2 separate regions of the Homo sapiens genome follow, and region 1 is linked to region 2. The links are contacts of gene promoters, found by promoter capture Hi-C in human tissues and cell types (Jung and others, 2019). All regions are on one chromosome and are shown on one strand. Each heading gives the region's core, a stretch centred on a gene start or on the middle of the fragment in contact. The rest is flanking DNA. Distances are from core to core; before and after follow the strand shown. Region 1 has its middle 88 kb from the start of KCNAB1. Region 2 holds the start of SSR3 (signal sequence receptor subunit 3).

Region 1 (3,970 bases), core at 870-3,369, 520 kb after region 2:
GGTGAAACCCCGTCTCTACTAAAAATACAAAAAAAATTAGCCGGGCGCGGTGGCGGGCGCCTGTAGTCCCAGCTACTCGGGAGGCTGAGGCAGGAGAATGGCGTGAACCCGGGAAGCGGAGCTTGCAGTGAGCCGAGATTGCGCCACTGCAGTCCGCAGTCCCGCCTGGGCGACAGAGCGAGACTCCGTCTCAAAAAAAAAAAAAAAAAGAAAAGAATTGCTATTGAGGGCCATTTGACAAAAGACAAGTACACTTTGTGTTATCTTTAACAGAAGGTAGAGATAAAAATAAACCTGCTCCAACATGTTTCACAAGACCGAGCACACTAAACCCAATTAAAATTCTGGTCATAAAGAGCAGCAATTTGGCAGGCCATAGTGAAGAATTCATAGAGCAGTAGTTACAGAAATCATATGTCTTACAAACTTTGAGTACTTATGACCTTAAGCCAATTGCCTTTAGAGATGAAATTTTAGATCTTATAACTCCAAATTAGAGCTAATTCAATAAAACATAGTACTATAAGTCCCCTGTCTTCCAATTATGAATATAACTAGCATTTAATTTATTTCAGAAACAAATAATTTTAAATATTTTTTATGAATCCTACTCATATTTCACATTTCATATATTTTATTTTGCATTTTCCTCTATTAACTTCAAGGTTGTAGGTATTTTCCCAACTGTAGCAGCTTTAGAACTGAAACACAATACTATGTTTTTTTCACAGTGCACAAAACATCCAATAATTTGATGGATTTTAATTATTTTTGTTATAAGTTATTCATACCTATTTATAAAGAAGGCTCCTTAGGCCTTCTTTGCAAAAACATGTTTGATCTAATAGCATCCTCATATCAATGAAGAAATTACCATCTCAACCTGGTTTCCGTGACACGTGTCCATCAGCACATGGGATGGAGTCAAAGCAGCATATTGGTTCCCTCTGAACGAATCCCCTTCCGAGTCCCAGGAGGACACACATCAGTACACACTGAATGGGGAAGCTAGCAAAGACAAACATGATGTATTAACAAAGCCCTTTGTCTCTAGTACTCATGAGGCTGAGAAAGTTTCCATTTGAATTTCCATGGAAGCTTTGCGATTTCCTGGGAAACCCAGGATGCCTGAGTGAAGATAATGAACAAAGAAAATAACAACATGGAGAACGTAGAGAAGAATTTTGCTAAAGGAGAGTCTCGGTGTTAAGTCTAGAAATGCAAAGCTAATTCTAAGCCTCTTCTTTCTAACCTTGGGGATCCAGACCAGGCTCCATGCCTACAGGACTCTGGGGATGAGATCATTTGACAGGTCTGTTCCTGCTTGTGAAGGACCTATGATTCCAAGAATCATCTTGAAAGCCTAAAAAATATTTTCCCTCTGCAAGGTCATCCCAAAGTAGTCTTAAAATCAAAGCTGTGTCATGAAGGGTCAGTAGAAAAGAACAGTGAAAGATCTGATTTATCAGAAAAATGGGGAGGGCAAAAGGAAAAGCAGACAAGGCATAGCATTGAAATATTTTCTTGCTAAACGAATTTCAAAATCTCAGTAGTAAACACAGGCCTCCTTTTACATTCTACATGGATGTGTACCTTGAAACCCAGAATAAATGCAAGGTTTGTAAATAGTTTGTTTCTTAATCCATTAGGGAGTTTCCTGTTTAAGAAACAAAATGCTTTTCCATTAAGCAAAGAATCATTTTGGAAGATGCATGATTACACTTATATTTATTTTAGAAATCAGAATTTTCATATGTTGAGTTTTCCAGAGTAAATCTGAATTAAATAACATAGAAAATATTACCAATCTCTGAGCTAGGTTATGGTACATAACATTACAGAAGTATGTATACACAATAGATAAGCTTCTTATATGTTTTATACATATGTATCTGTAAAATCATATTTTAAATGCACCTTAAGGAGTAGCTATTACAGGAAGGAGTGATAGCAAGGCATTCTCAAATTCTGAAAGATGAACAATAAAATCATCACAGAATGAACTAGAATTCCTTGCTCTGATCCAGTCTTCTGGAAAGAACTCTCGATATTACCTTATGATTACTATTATCATTTTTTTTTCCTCTGTTGCCCAGGCTGGAGTGCAGTGGCACCATCTCGGCTCACTGCAAGCTCCGCCTCCCGGGTTCATGCCATTCTCCTGCCTCAGCCTCCCGAGTAGCTGGGACTACAGGTGCCCACCACCACACCCAGCTAATTTTTTGTATTTTTAGTAGAAACGGGGTTTCACCGTGTTAGCCAAGATGGTCTCGAATTTCTGACCTTGTGATCCACCTGCCTCGGCCTCCCAAAGTGCTGGGATTACAGGCGCGAGCCACGGCACCTGGCCCATTAGTATCATTAACAATGAGCTGATACCTTTTTGTTCCATTTCTCAGTATTCCTTCCCTTCTCAACCTCTGTGATCTAGCTGCCAACTCACTCACCTCACTAAAACTCTTCTTGCCATGTCTGAGAGATTTTCCTCTGGCCACATTTTCCTTCAGCTTTCTTCAATACTTGACACTTTTGATCAGCCCCTCTTTGAAACGCAAGCTACCTTGGCTTCCCTTGGGTCCTGGGTTTGGTCCTTGGTCCTCTGGTTTTCTCTCTTACTGTAAAGCAGGTCCTTCATTCTCTTGTCTTCAACCAGTATCTCTATAGAAGTACTCCCAAATTTTGATCTCTAACACCAACCTTTCCCACCTGATCTCTATTTAATTCCATATTCTAAACTTCCCATATGTTCCTACATTAAGATTCCACCATCACCTCAAGTTCAACACGTACAAAACTATCCCATAAACCCTATTCCTCATTTCTGTCATCAACACCACCATTCCTATCCATCATCTCCAACCTGATATTACTTGCCTGTATGGACCCTCTCTTCCACTCAAGTCCACCTTCTCACCAACCACCAGACTCAGTTTACCATTATGACTTAAATCATTATTTGTATTGTCCTCTAATTGTTTCATGTAACACTTCCAGGTCCAATCCGTCAGCAGATTTGATGTCTTCTACCTATAAGATATCCATAAGATATCCAGAATCTAATGACTTTTTGCCACCTCCATCACATCTATCCTGGGCCAAGCTACCTTCATTATTTTGGATGATTTTATGGTCTTTTAACAGTCTCCTTGGTTCTGTTCTTGCCCCTCCACCCCACTCCTTCCACTGATTTGCAGTATGGCAAACAATGATACCTGAGTCAGATCATGGCCCTCCTCTGTCAAGATTTTCAGGGTTTCCCTTCTCACTCAGTGTGAAAACCAAAGTCCTTCAAAAGCCAACAGGGCCCTGCATGATCTGTCCCTCTCTAACCTCTCTCACCTCCTTTCCTGCTCTCCCTCTCTTTCACTCTTTCCAGCCACATTGACTTCTTTTCTGTTCCTCCAAAGTGCCAGCCACACGCGCCTCAGGGTTTAGAAGGTGCTGTTCCCTGTGCTGGAAATATTCTTCCCCTAGATAATGCATGAACACACTTTCATTTGAATTTCTGTTCAAATGTCACTCTAGCGAGGCCTTCCCTGACTACGCTATATGGAATTTCAGTGCAACACTCCCACAGCACTCCCTATCTCAGTCCTGCTATTTGTTTCTCCCTGACATTAACATCCTTTAAGATACAGTATAATGTCTCTATTTGTCTTGTTTGTTGCCTACTTCCTTCCATTGAAATGTTAATCCCATTAGGCTGGGATTTGTTCTGTTTTGCACACTGACGTATCCGCAGTTCCTATGCACATATGCTACTGTTCTCAACAAATATTTGCTCAGTTAATTAGGGGCAGTGGCCTTATTTTTGCAATGTTTAACCCAGAGTTGGATTTATAGTAGATGCTTAGTAAATTTGTATTGAATTACATTTGAAGCAATTTCATTATACAAACAATCCCAATTTTATAGTAAAAGATAAGAAAAATAAATTACTATACCCTAATGAAGATTATTAAAAGAAAAA
Region 2 (4,583 bases), core at 1,951-4,450:
AGGGTTGCTGTAGGGATGAATCAGACAATACGTGTGAAGGACAAAGCACAGAGGTAGACATACAACAAGGACTCAATTCATGTTAGTTATTATAATCAAAATAATCATGATTATTATTTGGATACTTTCACAGGTTTTGCACAGTACTTTTCATGTAGTAGCTTCTCAATAAATATTTGCTGAATGAGTACATGAACTAATGAATTAGTCAAATATCAGTGGGTGAAATATGTAGTTTGGCTGAGTAAATAATTTTTCAGGTGATACTTTAAAACATTATACTTAGGGACTAATATAAGTGTTCCACCTCTTTTAAAATTATTCCCATCATGAGATTTGCATTTCAAGTAGGCTTTAAAACAGAGGAGCTTTTCTTTTTTCCTCCCCACAGTAGCCCTGGATGATCCATTTGTTATTCTTTAAAGGTCCCAGTGAAAAGCTAGCAGTGGCTTTCTATATTGGCTAGGCAACTTGCAGTGTCTGACACAGAAAAATATGTTAATTTTTAGCATACCAGATTTTCTTTCACAAAGTCATCAGTAATCTCTTATCCATATACCTGACAGCAAAAAATATTATTGCTTGGGGTTTTTCCTCCAATCTGAAAAGAATCAAGTGATATAATAGAAAATATACAAGAAAGCCTGAAATTCATAGAATAGACTCAGACTGCTATGGAATCAAGTCCATTTGGTTCCTTCAGAGTTAAGCTATGTTGAAATGGGCAAAATATATTGTAGATCTTTGCTTGGGTAGAATTTACTACCCACCTCTCCTTCTGTTTTTTAGCACATTGTGTACCCTGGTTGTCCAGTGTGCCACGGCTATGTGTGCCACGGCTATATATGCCACATACAAGTGATCCTTAGGTCTTGCTGCTTGCTTTTTAAAGGGAACTAGGTAGCTCTGGTGCAAGAAAACACTGCTTCAGTACTCCAAGTGTGCCACCTTCATAATTGTAATTGTTGCCATTACCAAAAATATTCTATCATAAGTATCATTCCCTATCATATTTCTCTAATTTACCCCCACAAAATAATTTGAAATTCATATTTTAGATTATCTTCTGTTTATAGTTACCTTTAGCTTTACAAAATGTATTAATTTTTTTCTGCTAGCTTTTTTTGATTATATCAATTGTAACATTTATATCCACTAAACATTTCAAACTTTTATCTTTCCTATTTTAATTGTTAAAATATTTTTCTCAGGCATAATTTTTTTAAATCTCATCCTTATCATTTCTTCTTTTCTTCTTTTAAAAGAAAGATGATTGTTGTCTCTTTGGATCTTTTAGTTTTCTGATTTTTTTTTTTTTTTTTTTTTGATGGAGTCTTGCTCTGTTGCCAGGCTGGAGTTGGAGTGTAGTGGCGCGATCTTGACTCACTGCAACCTCTGCCTCCCGGGTTTAAGTGATTCTCCTGCCTCAGCCTCCTGAGTAGCTGGGGACTACAGGCGTGCGCCACCATGCCTGGCTAATTTTTGTATTTTTAGTAAAAGCGAGGTTTCACCATGTTGGCCAGGATGGTCTCGGTCTCTTGACCTTGTGATCCACCCACCTTGGTCTCCCAAAGTGCTGGGATTACAGGCATAAGCCACCGCACCCAGCCTCTGATTTTTATCTTTTATCTTCTTTTTATATCCTTAGTTTGTTTATAAATAGGCAGAAGAAAATCTAGTTATAGAGACAGATCCAAAAAGTTTTATTTATGAATTGGTCATAGATGGAGAAGGAAAAAAATAATTAGTGTTGAAACCCACTATTTTAACCAGAACAACAAATGAGTTTAAAAGAATGCAACTTAGTGAGATAGGAAAAACTGGGGGAGGAGTATGTGTAAGAGAAAATAATAATTTCTTCTTCTATCACTACCATGTAATAAAATAAAGAGCATTTTTAACATCAAAAAAGACATAAACCCAGATATTTTTAAATGAATACTTTTGATTTTCTGAAAAATTCACTAGATGGTCTTTTTTTCTTTTTCATTTTGTGGTGAATTAATGAAAACTTCTGGCATTAAGGAACACTTGCGGTAGATAATGGAAGGATTTATATTTCAGGAAAACTCACTCTGGTACCTGTATAGAGAATAGACTGGAAAAGATTGAAGACAAAAGCCCAATTAGGACTAGTAATAGGAAGCTGTGGAGGTAGATTACAATTTGGATACTGTGAGGAAGAAAGATATCTACCAAACGGTTAATAAGGAGGCTGGAGGTTGAGGAAATTGTGCCTAATGCACTAGAGTGTTCTCAGTAATCAAAAGTAGCATTTGCTGGGAGTGATGTGGTTGAATTTTTTTTTGAAGAAAAAATGATAATGTGTTGAGTTAAAAATGGAATCTAGCTGTTTTAATAGACATACTTAATCCTTCTGAGCTTCAGAGAGGGAGTCTTGCCTAGCCAACCTGTTCTTAGTATTATGTTTTATTTAGCATGGCTTTGGAAGCCACAAAACTCTATAGGTCTAGTTGAAATAAAATAAAATAGTAGTAACTTGTATCAGACATATATTAAATATTGCCTTCATCAATGAGATCATGAGTTTCTTAAAAGCAAGAGTCCCATTTTCTTCTTCCTACAGAGGTGGCCTATTGTTTAGTGAAAAGAGCCCACGCCTTGGAGACCCACACCGCAGGTCTACGACCCTCAGGCTCTTCAGCTGCAATGGCGGTAATGATGCGCACGTCATAAGATTCTTCAAGGTATTTAATGAAATAAAGGATGTGTAAAGGAGAAGGGATTTTACATGAGTTAGCTATACCTTTCTCTTCTTTCTTCTTCAACGTACTCAGTCCTGGGTACGCACAGAGGGCACTAATGGCGTGGGGCCAGAAGAGCTTTTAATTTTGGAATTCTGAAGAACTGAGAACTCGTGAGTCTGTCAGCAGCTCTGAAGTGGAATATCAATAAAGTTTTGTTAATTTTTTTTAAAGCACCGACTAAACTACAAATCCCTTCTCTCTCCTCCAGGTGGGTGGGTCACGTGGCTTGTCAGGAATCCGGAAGTCTGGCCCGCTCGCCCAATCACGCCCGGAAGCCTATCTAGTGGCGCCAAGCTGGCCAATCCTGGGGACGCTTGCTCTTCGCCAAACCGGGTCCCGCCTCCGCGCGCCGCGCTGACGGGTCGTTAGCGGATACGGCGGCCGCAGGGGCGGAGTCAAGGGCCTTTGCCCGCCTTGGCGGCCGGCTCTACGTTCCCTGTTCTCGCCTGCAGCTCCGCCATGGCTCCTAAAGGCAGCTCCAAACAGCAGTCTGAGGAGGACCTGCTCCTGCAGGATTTCAGCCGCAATCTCTCGGCCAAGTCCTCCGCGCTCTTCTTCGGAAACGCGTTCATCGTGTCTGCCATCCCCATCTGTGAGTGCTGGGAGCGAGGCGGGTTAGGCAGGCCGCCGGCTAGTCGGGCTGGGCGGGGACGTGGCAGGACCCGGCGAGCAGGGAAGGCGTGGGTGCCGGCCGGGGGTCGGCAATCTCTCCAGCTCCCCTGAGCTCGGGGAGGCACGGAGCCTCTTCTTTGGGCACAGTGTTGTCGCTTGGGATTGTCCTGTGCAGCACTCGGGGAGGTCACTTGTTAAAAGTACGCACGTTCCCGAGCTCCACCCCAGGAGAAGGTGGTTAACTAGTTCTGGGGTGGCGGCCCCGAATCTCTATTTAAACAGACAAACTCAAGCATACTGCCTCTGCCCTTTTCTATACAACTGTTGCTTGCCGTTACGAAATTTTAAACTTATTACTTATTTTGCATAAATTAGTTAGGTGAGAAACCCATGAAGTGACCCACTGAATTATAAGTGCATCTTTACGTGAGCTACTTCACACCATTGCATAATTTTCCTGGTTTTTGCAAAAAGAGAGAGGTTGAAGTGCCAGGGGTTAGGGATCTACCTTATTTATACTTTTTAATAATCCTACTGGACCAATTCTAGAATTCTCACTTGGTTGGGAAACTGCAGACTTGGACAAGGTCGTTTTTAGTAGAGCTCAAGTTTCCAGAACTCCTGTCTTTTGCTGCACTGTTGTTGGGCATTTAAAACTAAATGTATTTTTCTCTTTTGTCCTTATACAACCCAGCGTGCCATTAACGTGATGTGAAGCCATATGATGGCTCACTAATTGGACATAGCACTGCTTGGAGTTCTGATAACAGCCACGTCAGCAAGGAAACTATGGTTTGGGGCTGCACGTGGCATTTTGGAATGGCCTGTGTTTCGCATGCTAGTACCCTGATGAATGAAATTTGAAGTCTGACTTGTGATTACGTTGAGCCAGAGTTTGTTCTCATTTTAGAAGTTGAAATCTCATCTGGACTAGTAATAGGAAGGTGATGTTTTTCAAATGTTCTGAACTGGAAAGCTTGAGACTATACTGTTACTGGTTATCTCGCTTCTGAAGATCCTCAGATACTATTGGATTGCATAACTAATAACCTGGTATTTTACCAGGCTTAGCTATAATTAATTTCGCAGGCTTTTGTTGCGGGGTTGTAATGTTTTGCTTCTTTTTGTACCCTTCCCCCTTTTATTTTAATTCAGGGTTATACTGGCGAATATGGCATATGGATCTTATTCAGTCTGCTGTTT

The links. Contacts are between HindIII fragments. The study calls those that stand out against the background at their distance.
Region 1: a fragment that was not itself captured here is called in contact with the fragment with the promoter of SSR3 in region 2 in 1 of the 25 tissues and cell types used here (dorsolateral prefrontal cortex).

The regions. Positions count from the first base shown.
Region 1 is chr3:156,030,617-156,034,586 of GRCh38, reverse strand. It overlaps the pseudogene VN2R1P. Among named protein-coding and RNA genes, the nearest start is that of KCNAB1, 88 kb to the left of the region's middle. The HindIII fragment of the contact is 4,954 bases long and covers 1-3,970 here.
Region 2 is chr3:156,553,734-156,558,316 of GRCh38, reverse strand. SSR3 (signal sequence receptor subunit 3) reads left to right here and starts at 3,200. Exons shown (of 5, transcript NM_007107.5): 1 at 3,200-3,360; 2 at 4,536-4,583. The coding sequence starts at 3,228. RefSeq lists an enhancer at 3,262-3,341. The HindIII fragment of the contact is 9,549 bases long and covers 1-4,583 here.